Regions from separate parts of the Homo sapiens genome. Here region 2 is linked to region 1. The links are contacts of gene promoters, found by promoter capture Hi-C in human tissues and cell types (Jung and others, 2019). All regions are on one chromosome and are shown on one strand. Each heading gives the region's core, a stretch centred on a gene start or on the middle of the fragment in contact. The rest is flanking DNA. Distances are from core to core; before and after follow the strand shown.

Region 1 (6,357 bases), core at 667-3,166:
ATATATATATATATATTATTGTGTTGTGGGTTTTAAAAACACAAATGGTATCATACTGTATATATTGGTATTTGCTTTTTATTTAAGAATGTGTCTTAGAATTCTTCCTATGTGTGTTCAGATAAACCTTATTCTTCTTAAATGTTGCCTAATAGCTTATTGAATACATATAATTTATTTAGCAGTTCTCCAATATATAGACATAGGTTGCTTACAATTATCTTTCTATTATAAAGTTTTTGTGAACCTCCTGTAATATGTCTCTTTGTGTGACTTTTTTCTGAGACAGTCTGCTCTGTCACCCAGGCTGGAGTGCAGTGGCATGATCTTGGCTTACTGCAACCTTCGCCTCCCGGGTTCAAGAGATTCTCGTGCCTCAGCCTTCCAAGTAGCTGGGATTGCAGGCACCTGCCACCACTGCCCAGCTAATTTTCGTATTTTTAGTAGCGATGGGTTTTTGCCATGTTGGCCAGGCTGGTCTCGAACTCCTGACTTCAGGTGATCCACCTGCCTCGGCCTCCCACAGTGGTGGGATTACAGGCATAAGCCACTGCACCTGGCTTTTGTGTGCATTTTAAAATCAGGGTCCAGTCAGGAAAACAGAAATCACATTAGTTATTGAGAAATATTTTAATATGGGAAATTGGTCAAAAGGAATTATAAAAGGTAACAGGTAATCACTGCAGGTAGCAGCTACCATTCCTAGAGCTAGGAAAGGATGGAACAAAAGAAGTGGTTGGAGTCATCAGAACCTAAAAGCTTGAAGGAGGGCCCTGAACACCTTAGTTCAGGCCTATGAAGAATGAAGAGAGGGTGATGGCTGGCTGTTACTGGATCTCTGGAGCACAAAGAAGGGATCCCACGGTGTTGAGGCTCAAACTTCTGAGGAGGTGGCTCAAACATTGGCTATCTCAGGAGCTCAGGGGAGGGGCCGCATGAAAGTAGAATTCAGATCTCTGAGGAGAGCACTGACTGCTGCTGTGATCTCTGAGGGGTGCAATAAGGCTGATTCTGTGATTGTTGGAAAAAGGATAGAGATTAAAACCACCTTTTGGCTAAAGCAATTGCTCCTGCCACGGTAAAATGCAGCTGCTGCTGGCATGATGCTTACAGAATGGAGCAAGTCCCTTCTTCCTCTTGCCTTTGTTTCCCTCTTGTTCGTCCTGTTGGTGGAATCTAGCAGAAGCCCCCCCAGTAACATGGAGTTGAGTATAAAAGGGTGACTGCGTGGACAAGAAACAATAACCAGCACACATTTACTTGTTTCTCTGGTGTGATTCTGAGTCGCACAATCAATGGGTTACAGGATTTGTACATTTCAAATTTTAATAGGGACTCCCACATTATCCTCTTTCCTAAACTGCACGTTAACAGTTTCAATATGAATAAAAGGGGACGGGGAGGGGAGATTTAGAGAGAATAGTGCCTACAGCAGTAATCAAATTTTAACAAGACTTGGGAATACTGTCAAAATGCAGGATCTGATTCAGGAGTTCTGAGGGGCCCGAGTTGGCCTTTTCTAAAAAACGCCCAGGTGATACTGATGATTGCATCATGTTGGAAGTCTAAAACACTCCCATCTTCCCACAGCCTCTACCATAACATTCTAATGCTACCCTTATGTGAAACTGCCCCTCTGATGATTCACGCCAGTTTCCTACCCTCTAAGCAAGGAACAAACCTAGCTTCTGAAAGCGGGGAGGACAGGATTTGGCGCCACGGGTCCAATGCTTGGCTTCCTATTGGCCAGGAATGACATCACTCAGACAGGCGTGGCTTTAGCTGTGACGTCTCCGGTGGCGGATGGTCAGGGACACAGCGGGAGGCGGGAGCGGAAGTGGGGCAGCAAATGGACAGGGTGGGTGGCGGAAAAGGGCCCGGGGGAAGTTATTACAGGGTGTCCTCTTCCGCCGCCAGAAGCCGGAAGTTGTGTCCCGGACGTGTCAACCGGGGTCTGAGTGCTCAGAGTACAGCTGCAACCGCGACCATGGGCGGGAAGAACAAGCAGCGAACTAAAGGGAACCTGAGGGTGAGCGGGGGCTGGCTCGGCCGACCCGGGAGCCTCGCTTCGAGGCGGCTGGCTCCGCCCAGCGCGTTGCTGGAGGGTGTGTGGAGCGCGGCTGTAGGGAGGCGTGTGTTTCCCTGTCGAGTGTGACCTCTCTGTTGTGTGTGCGTCCCTGAGAGCGGTTTGTGTTATCTCTGAGCAGATTGGGGAATCGTGAGAGAAAAGATGTACCATGCCAGAGCTGTCCTCATCCGAGCACACACCCATAATATTCATGAAGAAATGATAATGTGTCAGGTTCACTGGAAGGTGATCTGGCCGAGGTAGCGGGTTGGTTGGGGGAGGGCGGCGCTGGGAAGAAGGAGAGTTGGGAGAATGTTAAAGTGAATCCACTGTGGAGGTTACCGCAGATTGTGCCTCTCCTTTGCTACCTACAGTGGCTTCTCCTAAGCTAAAGCTCTTAGGATGGTATATTTGGTTTCTGGACTGCCTGTTACCCCTTTCCATCTGCAGTCCCATCTTCAGCTCCCTCCTCTTGGCTTACTTCATCCAGCCACACTGATCTCTTCACTGTGCCTTGACTACCTGGCCGGCTCCCAACGCTCTTCAGTTAGGTGGCTCCAAACTTTGCTCTCGACACCTCAGTGAGGTCTCCCATGATCACCCTCTTGGTAGCCCTTCCCCACTCCCATGTTCTTCCTACTTTATTTTACTCCATTGTATTTATGACATTTATTGTCTTGGTTCACTAGGACGTAAGTATTTTGAAAGCAAATGTTTTTATCCTCGGAACCTAGAACAGACTGGCACCTAATAGACGCTCACTAAGTACTTGCTTAAGGACGACCTTAAAGTGGATTCGTGTAAAACTACACGATGAGGGGTTTTGTAATGGTATTTTTTTATGGTGTTAGATTTATTATAGCACAGTCCAATTTTATGAGAATGCTTTTTTTTCCTGTTTCTGATGTAGTTAATTCTAGTGATTTCAATGTCACATTTTCTTAGATCTGTCACTTAATCTGTTTTGGAAGATAATAACAGTATTAACAATTATAGCAACCTGTTGTGTTACTGTGCTAAGCACTTTACTTGCATCTTTTAATGTTTTTTATTTAACAGATTTTCTCAAATGTTTTATATTTGAAAAGTTCTTATGAGGAAAAGTTGCAAGAATATTAGAACGACATCCCATATACTCTTTACCTACATTTACCAATTGCTAATACTTGGTTGCATTTGCTTTCTCTCTCTTAATTTATGTATTTTTCTGAACTTATAAGAGTTAGTTGCAGAAGTCGGGACTCTTAACTCCTAAATACATCAGCATGTATCTTCTAAAAACAATGCCATTTTCTAGCCTGCAGCAATTATAATAATGGTTATAGTATGCAGAAACTTTGACTTTTGTATAATACTGTAATCCAGGATACAGCCTTGTATTTAGACTTCTGTAGTTATCCCAATAATGTTCTCTTTTTTCTTTTTTTTTTTTTTGTAAGACAGGGTCGCTCTGTCTCCAAACCTGGAGTGTGGTGGTATGATCATGGCCCACTGCAGTGTCAACCTCTTGGGCTCAAGCGGTCAGTCCTCCCACCTCAGCCTCCTTAGTAGCTAGGACTCCTGGCTAATCTTTTTTTTTTTTTTTTCGGGGACAGAGTCTGGCTCTGTTACCCAGGCTGGAGTGCAGAGGCGTGAACTTGGCTCACTGCAATCTCCGCCTCTCGGGTTCAAGTGATCCTCCCAGCTTAGCCTTTCCAGTAGCTAGGACTACAGGTACAGGCCATCACGGCTAGCTTATTTTTGTAGGGACAGAGTTTTGCCATGTTGCCCAGGCTGGGACTTTTTTAAAAAGATAAACCGTTTTAACATCTGAGATTCAGTCAAGGATCACTCATTCCATTTAGTTACCATTTGGGTTTCTTTGATCTAGACAGTTTCTCAGTACTGTTTAAGCGGGGAGAGGAGTGTCTTTTTTAACAAAATTTGGAAGAGCCTGGGCCATTTGTTTGATTAATTCAGATTCATCTAGTTTTTTCCTTATGATTAGATTCAGGCTAAACAATTTTTAGAAGGAATTCTTCATAGATGATGAGTCTTTCTCAGTGCATCACACACCAGGGGCACTTCGCACCTGTTTGTCCCCTTATTGGTGGTATTTGTTTAATTACTTGGTTAAGGTGTTGTTCATTATAAAGTTATATTTTTCCATTGGCCAATAACAAATAATATGTTAGTTTGAAACTGTGAATGTCCTGCTCTTCCACAAACTTTCACCTAATGGTTTGAGCACCCTTTGATTCTTGCTGGAATCAGTTATTACTATGGTGATTTAAAAACTTATGCTTAATCATGAAAACAACCCAACTAATGAATTAATTACTCATATCTCATTTTAAATGTGGTGAAACTGAGGTTTAGAGAAATTAGCTTGCCTAAGCTCATGTAGCCAGGAAGTTGTGGAGTTGGGATTTTAACTTTAATGTGGCAAAGTCTTCAATAGAAGACTCTGATACTGGATGTCAGGTATTCAGAGATAATAGATGTCTGCTGTTCTTGAACTATTAGTTTGATGATACAGACACATATGTAAGCAAATGTTAAAGAATTATGATGCAGGTATTAGAAGAAAGAATGTGGGAGAATGGAAGAGAATGGAGGAAGGCAAGTGTTGCAAACATGAGTTTGAAAGATGAGTAGGAGTTTGTCAGACAGTGAAAAGAAAGGAAGCGTTTTCAGGTAGAGAAAAAAGGTTATATAAAGATCAAATTGTGAAAGGCCATCACATAGATAACTTTTTTTTTTTTTTTGAGACAGAGTCTCGGGTCACTGCAACCTCCACCTCCCAGGTTCAAGCAGTTTTGTTGCCTCAGCCTCTCGAGTAGCTGGGATTACAGGCATGCACCATCACACCCGGCTAATTTTTTGTATTTTTAATAGATACAGGGTTTTGCCATGTTGGCTAGGCTGGTCTCAAACTCTTGGCCTGAAGTGATCTGCCCAAAGATACGCTCAGCCTCCTAAAGTGCTGGGATTACAGGTGTGAGCCACCATGCCCTGCCTCAGAGAACTTCGAATTCAGTTTGCTACTAGGGCATGAATGATGGCAGCATAATTTGAAGAAGGGAGAAGGAAGTGGGGCAAGGGAAGGAAAGAGTGGCAGGAGATAAGACTGGGAAAAGTTGAGGTTAGATGGTGAAAGGTCTTGTAAGTCTTCCTTGGTTTGGTCTTTGTAGACTCAGGATTGCCACCACAAATAACTCTAGAAGCTAGGCATGAAAGAGTGTAGACAGAAGTAGGCATAGTACAAAAAAAAAAATAAGTGCCATAAATAGAATTGTTTCTTAATTTTTATTGAACTATGGGTATAGCACTTAACATACAAAGATCATAAGAGTAACTATATTTTAAATTTAAAGTAGACATTAAAAAAAGATAGTGCATTTAAAAGTAACTTGTTACTTTTAAATTGGAGACTGGAAATTTGATACCTTCTCTTTTGCCCCTAGTTATCACTCCTAATTCTGTTATTTCAGCCTCAACTCCTTTAGATGTTAGCAATAATTAGTTTTTTATTCTGTTTCATAATAAAACCGTTTACACATGAGATTGTAGAAAATTCTGATACCCTAAAGTCATCATATTTAGTTTAAGAATTATAATTCACTAACTACTTCCTTTGTGGCTCTTTATTCATGTACCAATATTGAGAAAGGTGAATTGAATAATTAATATTAATTCATTTTAATAAACTTAAAAAATAGAGAACAGCTGCTTTGCCTATGGAGTAGCCATTCTTTTATTCTTTTCTTTTTTTTTTTTGAAATGGAGTTTCGCTCTTTTTGCCCAGGCTGGAGTGCAATGGCGCAATCTCGACTCACTGCAATCTCTGCCCCCTGGGTTCAAGCAATTCTCCTGCCTCAGCCTCCCAAGTAGCTGGGATTAAAGGCATGTGCCACCATGCCTGGCTAATTTTGTATTTTTAGTAGAGACGGCGTTTCACCATGTTGGCCAGGCTGGTCTTGAACTCCTGATCTCAGGTGATCTCCCTCCTCAGCCTCCCGAAGTGCTGGGATTACAGACGTGAACCACCGCGCCTGACCTATTTTCTTAATAAACTTACTTTCACTTAAAAAAAAAAATAGAGAACCTTTTTTGGAATTAGTCTTAAATGCTACAGATTGAAAACAAATGTAATGCAGGCCATCATTTTCTTTCCTGTTCACTCAGTTCAGTTTAGGAAGTAGGCCAGATTATTCCTTGTCAGATGAATTTTCCAAACACACTTTTGCTAGGTATTAGGAATTTTTTTTTTTTTTTTGAGACAGAGCCTCGCTCTGTTGCCCTGGGTG
Region 2 (6,939 bases), core at 374-2,873, 250 kb before region 1:
ATACAGGCATACAATGTGTAATAATCACATTAGGGTAAACCGAGTATCCATCACCTCAAGCATTTATCATTTATTTGTGTTACAAACATTTCGTTTATACTCTTTTAGTTATTTTTAAATGTGCAATAAATTGTTGTTGGCTGTAATCACCCTGTTGTGCTATTAAATATTAGATCTTATTCAAGTGGAGAAAAAGGAACCCTTGCATGCTGTTGGTGGGAATATAAATTAGTACTAAATTAGAATGTAAATTATTCTCCACAGCCACTATGAGAATAGTATGGATGCTCCACAAACAATTAAAAATAGAACTACAACACGATCCAGCAATCCCACTGCTAGGTATATACCCAAAAGAAAGGAAGTCAGTTTATGGAGGGGATATCCACATTCCCATGTTCCTGCTGCACTATATATAATCGCCAAGATGTGGAAGCTTCCCATTTTTTTTTGAGTAAATTATTCAAGAATAAGTACATGCCACGGAATCCTAAATAACAAGTAATGGGATACTACCCTTGTTCTCTGCACAGTTGTGCATCTTTTGCTCCTTCCTACAACTGCCAATTGTTTAAGGGGAGAGTTACTGGGGTGAACAGCCTGGCCAACATGGTGGAACCCCATCTCTACTAAAAATACAAAAATTAGTTCTGCATCGTGGTGCCCGCCTGTAATCTCAGCTACTCAGGAGGCTGAAGCAGAAGAATTGCTTGAACCCGGGAGGTGGAGGTTGCAGTGAGCTAAGATCATGCCACTGCACTCCAGACTGGGCAACAGAGTAAGGCTCCTTCTCAAAAAAAAAAAGAAAGAAAAAAGAAAAAGAAACATAGGATAAATCCATCTTTTAACAGTATGTCACTTATATGTTTGCTATGGTTTGGGTGTTTGTCTCCCCAAACCTCACATTGAGCTTTGATCCCCAGTGTTGGAGATGAGGCCTAAGGGGACGTGTTTAGGCCATAGGGGTGAATTTCTCATGAATGGCTTGGTGCTATCCTTATGGTAATGAGTGAGTTCTTGCTCTATCAGTTCCTGTGAGAGCTGATTGTTAAAAAGAGCCTGGCACCTCCTGCCTCTCTTGCTTCTTCTCTTGCTGAATGATTTCTGCACACACTGACTTCCCTTCACCTTCCACCATGAGTGAAAGCAGCCTGAGACCCTCACCAGATGCAGATGTTGGTGCCATGCTTCTTGTATGGGCTACAGAAGTGTGCGCCAAATAAACCTCTTTTCTTTATAAATTACCCAGTCACAGATATTCCTTTATAGCAACACAAATGGACTCAGATAATTTTCAAACAACATAATCTGCATTTCTTTAACTTCCATTCCCCTTCAAAAGTATAATGAATATAGTAAGCTTCCTATGCTGCCAGAATTTTTGGATGCTCAATATGTTTTATAAGTTACTTTTTTCTAGATCAGCAATTAGGCCCATTATTTTAAATCTAGAGCAAATCCACTTCAACTGAAAGCATATTATTTGAAGATAACTAACATACTGTTTTAAGAAAAGTTTACTTTGTTTCCTGACTTTGCATATGTATCTTATAGAATGGGGACTGGAAGACCAACAGCAATAAATTATTTGCCAAGAAATGTAGTACATTAATAATGTAAACTGTAACTGTGTAAGGCCTTTTGAAAGATGCTTAATACATAAATCTACTCTCTGATAATTTTTTTTTTTGAAACAGAGTTTCACTCTTATTGCCCAGGCTGGAGAGCAATGGCTAGATCTCAGTTCACTGCAACCTCTGCCTCCCGGGTTCAAGCCATTCTCCTGCCTTAACCTCCCAAGTAGCTGGGATTACAGGTGCCTGCTACCACGCCCAGCTAATATTTGTATTTTTAATAGAGACCGGGTTTCACCATGTTGGCCAGGCTTGTATCAAATTCCAGACCTCCATTGATCTGCCCACTTCAGCCTCCCAAAGTGTTGGGATTACAGGCATGAGCCACCATGCCTGGTCAACACTCTGATAACTCTAAGCTATTTAATCCTTAAAAGTTACCAGCCTCATTTGCCAGAATGTGTTGTTTTGATGCCTAATGCCAGAGTGTAAGCTCCCTAAAGGTAGTAATATGTGTAGGATTTGTTCACCAGGAATATCCAGTACTTGGAAATGGGCCTGGCACATAGAATGCATTCAATAAATAATTTTAAATAAATGCTGCCATACATGGAAAGAGGATTAACATGATTTAGCTACTTAAACAATCTGCAACTCATCTGAATATTACTGGTTGGGCAAAGTCCCCAGTGCCTCTTGCTTAGGGGTAGCTTGCAAAATGAGAATCTCTCTGACCATGAAAATTATTTGGGAATTCTTCCAAATATGTCAGCTTAACAAAGACACATCAGTGAGTTATCTTGAAAATTCATTGTCTTCCTTATGTCTAAGGAAACATAGCACATTTTGACAGATAGCCACCATTTATGATTTCATGACATAACTGACACAATTGCAGCACTTAAAATAAGATTTTCCTGCTTTTGGATAGGTCTTCTCATGCCCAGTATATTTTTTAAGAAGTTATAAACAGTGAAAAACAAATTCATTGCAATTATATAAAGTATGTTAGCATAGTTCTTTTTAGAGAAAAACATCCTCATTATAAGTATGTTACTGTAAATGTATATTTATATTGTAAAATCCTAATTCATACACACTACTCCTTTTGTTGGTGGGGTAGAAGTAAGACACTAAAGGATCTAAGAGATTCATAGGGAAACTAAGTGGAAAATATTGGGAAATAAGATGAGGCAGACCAGCCAAGCTTTGGGTTTTTTGTCTGTTTTTTGAAATGGAGCTTCGCTCTTGTTGCCCAGGCTGGAGTGCAATGGCACCATCTCAGCTCACTGCAACCTCTGCCTCCTGGGTTTAAGTGATTCTCCTGCCTCAGCCTCCCGAGTAGCTGAGATTACAGGCACCCGCCACCATGCCCAGCTAATTTTTGCATTTTTAGTAGAGACGGGGTTTCACCATGTTTGCCAGGCTAGTGTCGAACTCCTGACCTCAGGTGACCTGCCCACCTCAACCTCCCAAATTGCTGGGATTACAGGTGTGAGCCACTGTTCCTGGCCATGCTTTGGGTTTTTATGGTACCAATAACCACTTCTCTGAAGTTAGAGGTGTAAACTTCACCTGCTTGATGTACTTTTTGGAAGAGCCTAGGTTGAAGAGAGGTATAGGGGATGAGAGAGGTGAGCACCAGAAAAAAACTTATAAAGAAAAGCCTGTGTTTGTTTTGAAAACAAGTAACCTATGGCTGGGAGAAGAGCTACTGTCAGATGCATGGGCAGAAAATCCAGGCAACCTGACTGTGAAAGGCCTACACAGCAGCAGCTGCAAGGCTGCTCACTGAGTCTTCAAAAGAGGGAACTTTATGCTAAGTCAATCTCTTCTCTGCATAAACTAGAATTATTTTACTTAGCAATGCCTGCTTTTCAAAGTATGGGTTGTAGAATGAAATAACCATTGTTCTCATCCCAAGCTTCACCACTGACCAGCAGTGGGACACAGGACAAGGAAAACTCTTTCCAGGCCTCGGCTCCTGTATTAGTCCATTTTCATCCTGCTGATAGACATACCCAAGACCAGTTGCTTTATTTAAAAAAAAAAAAAAAAAAAAAAGAGGTTTAATGGACTCACAGTTCCACGTGGCTGGGGAGGCCTCACAATCATGGCGGAAGGCGAAAGGCACATCTTACATGGCGGCAGGCAGGAGAGTATGAGAGCCAAGCAAAAGGGGTTTCCCCTTATAAAACCATCAGATCTCGTGAGACTTATTCACTACCACAAGAACAGTATAAGGGAAATCACCCCCAGGATTCAATTAACTCCCACCGGGTCCCTTCCATAACATGTGGGAATTATGGAAGCTACAATTCAAGACGAGATTTGGGTGGGGACACAGTCAAACCATATCATCTCCACACCTCCAAAATGGAGAGAGTAATCCCTCTTCCCATGTCTGTAGAAACCTTGCACAGTGTCCGGCGTACAGGAAAATGTCAATTAGTGGTAGGCTGTTATTTTTCATCTTTTGAATGGGAGTTGTAATTTTTTTTCTTTTTACATTTTCTCTTAGAATTTTAGTCAATTTTTAAAATATTGGGTTCTAAGAGTGCTAACATGGAGTAAAAAACTTGATATTGTCATTGCTTGGAGTTGGAAGAGAAAAAGCAAACACCAGGAGTCCTGGCACAGTAGCTGCAGGTCCATGAGGTAACTCAGCATGGAAGGCAGAAAAGCCAAGGAAAGAAGGTTGGGAAACTGGGGCAGGCAGGCATTCCCCCTATCTATTGCCTGGTCTGCATTTGTTGTTCTTTTGTTTTCTGGAACAAGACTGTATATTTTGCTCATTCATTGGCTTAGTTATTCATTCCATTCAATACAAATGCCACAAAAGGCCGGGGGCAGAGGTTCACACCTGTAATCCCATCACTTTGGGAGGCCAAGGCAGGCAGATCACTTGAGGTCAGGAGTTCGAGACAAGCCCGGCCAACATGGCAAAACCTCGTCTCTACTAAAAATATGAAAATTAGCTGGGGGTGGTGGCAGGCACCTGTAATCCCAGCTACTTGGGAGGCTGAGGCAGGAGAATTGCTTCAACCCAGGAAGCAGAGGCTGCAGTGAGCTCAGATAGTGCCACTGCACTCCAGCCTGGGTGACAGAGGGAGACTCTGCCTCAAAAAAAAACAAAAACAAAAACAAAAACAAAAACAAAAAAAGCCACAAAAGACATTGTGCAAAATGTGGAGAGAGGGAACAGAAAATGGCGGAAATTGAACTTCTCTCAAATCTCAAGTCCCTGTAGGAGATCAGACAAGGAAACTGACAAATGCAAAACCGGATGGTGAAGGCAAGGGGTTTAAGCAGATGTTCCCATGCAATTCTGTTCCCAATAAAAGACCACTGCTTTGGGTGCCAATAACCATGTAGATATGGAAAAAAAATTAATGATATTATGTATTATAAATATCTATACTTTTACAAAAAAGCCAATAAAAATAAATAATAACTGGAGGGTTTGTATTACTTTATTAGCAAAGATTGTTTTATATATGCTGGAAGTAATTTTGATTTCTGCAAAGAGGAAATTTTCTGATTATTATATACTGCAATCAGATTTTTTTCCTATCTCAAGTTATTATAAAAAATTCATTGTTGTCACAGATCAGAAACACCCATCCTCCTTGACTTTCCAGAAAGTCTGAAAGTTAAGAAAAATAATTTCACCATCTAAGCTATATGTTCCATGAGAAAGACACTGCTAAAACAGCAAAATGGTCCAAAAAAGATTCACCTGTGGAAAGTGAAGAAAAAAATGTTAACTTTTATAGTCTCTCTTAAAACAAGGAAATAGATGCATTTATTCCTATGTCTAGCTCTTCTCCTGTAATCTTCTACTTCTTGAATCTGCCTTGGACCAAGAAGCCCACATCTCTGCTGATACTGATTCCTACATCTTCTGGTCTGATGCCAAACCACAGTGATTTTGCATCTGCAAGAGCACATTTGAGAGTCAGCTGAAAGAAGAGCAAAACATTTATTAACGCCAAAGCCATCAACTGCAATCAAAAGATGAAGCCAAACAAATCGAGCAATTTGCAGAAGAGGAGACACCGTCTAAGGCAGGAATAAGTGAACCTGAAGGGTGTTAGAACAAAAACAGATCCCATCTCATAAAAGGAATCTTGGCACAGGCCTTCCCAAATATAAAAATCAAAGAGCTATTCTCCCCTGTCTTCCTTACATAACAGCACTCAAGGATAGGAAAGACAGATTTATGGATCAGAGGCTTCTGTCCAGAGCATGGCCTTTCTCATGAAGTTACCTGTCTAGCATGTGAACCTGATGATCGATGGGACTGTTATTCCCCATATTGGCTTTCTTCCCTGTAAGTGATTATACATCCAACCCATTTCCGAATGACTTGTGGTGCCTCTCCATACGTGGAGAATATTTCTCTGCCATGTTTTCAGGCTTGGCAACATGAGGTGTCTGGGCCAGTGAAATGTAAGCAGAGGTGACAGTGTGCCAGTTCAAGCAAACACTTTGAAGCATGACATTTTCCAGCCAATACTCTGTTTTTCTTTCTGCCACAAAAACAGCAGTCCCAAAGCCAGGCACAGAAAGATAAATTTCGCAGGTTCTCACTCATATGTGAGACTTAGGAATCAAAACAATTGAACTCATGGAGGTAAAGAGTAAAATGATGGTTACTAGAGGCTGGGAAGAGGACAGGGAAGGGGAAGGAGTGCAGACAGCTACTGGGTACAAAAATGCAGTTATGAAACAAAAATAGCAAGTCCCAACTATACATGGCTATGTTTCTGATTCCAGGAAAGAGAAGACACTGGGAGCAGAACTGTAGCAATCAGTGCATGACCATCACTATGTAATGCAAGTGGGAAATGAAAATTTGTTGGCGTGAGCCCCTGAGATTTGGAGACTATATATTATTGCAGTGAAACTGACTAATATATATGACACCACGAAGCAGTAACACAACTGCATTGAAATAAGCATTCTTTCTCTAAGGGCATCCCAATCCATGAGAGGCTTGGCTTTTATTCTAAAAATGAGTGGAAAGAGATTAGATAGGATTGGTTCAAGCACTATGTCATCTGTAGTCAGAAGGTACCAGGGATAAAGGTACAATTTTCTATCCTAGATGAACTACGTTGCTGTAAGATAAGCCATAGTTATCCTGGAGGTCACCTGTTGCACAATTCTGGAAGTGGCCATGAAATAGATCAGCCTTGAAGGAGTGTGGCACAGCATAGGTTTATATTTGCCCCACTGCAACCATTTTTTCAAACACATAGTAAGTTCACTTGTCCTCCATCTCAGGAGTCCACACACAGTCAGGGCTATTACAGTCACTAAACAGAAAGTGCTGCTTTTGGCTTCTAGTTCTGCAACTGCT

Evidence for each region. Contacts are between HindIII fragments. The study calls those that stand out against the background at their distance.
Region 2: a contact is called between a fragment that was not itself captured here and the fragment with the promoter of LTN1 in region 1, in 1 of the 25 tissues and cell types used here (spleen).

What each region holds. Positions count from the first base shown.
Region 1 is chr21:28,988,436-28,994,792 of GRCh38, reverse strand. It overlaps LTN1 (listerin E3 ubiquitin protein ligase 1), which reads left to right and starts at 1,916. Exons shown (of 30, transcript NM_015565.3): 1 at 1,916-2,029. The coding sequence starts at 1,988. It overlaps LOC105372766 (a long non-coding RNA gene), which reads right to left and starts at 1,690. Exons shown (of 3, transcript XR_007067835.1): 1 at 1,662-1,690; 2 at 1,112-1,223; 3 at 612-1,011. RefSeq lists enhancers at 1,632-1,691, 2,002-2,111. The HindIII fragment of the contact is 9,354 bases long and covers 1-6,357 here.
Region 2 is chr21:29,237,663-29,244,601 of GRCh38, reverse strand. The region is part of intron 1 of LINC00189 (long intergenic non-protein coding RNA 189); the gene reads right to left. Among named protein-coding and RNA genes, the nearest start is that of LINC00189, 48 kb to the right of the region's middle. The HindIII fragment of the contact is 3,034 bases long and covers 107-3,140 here.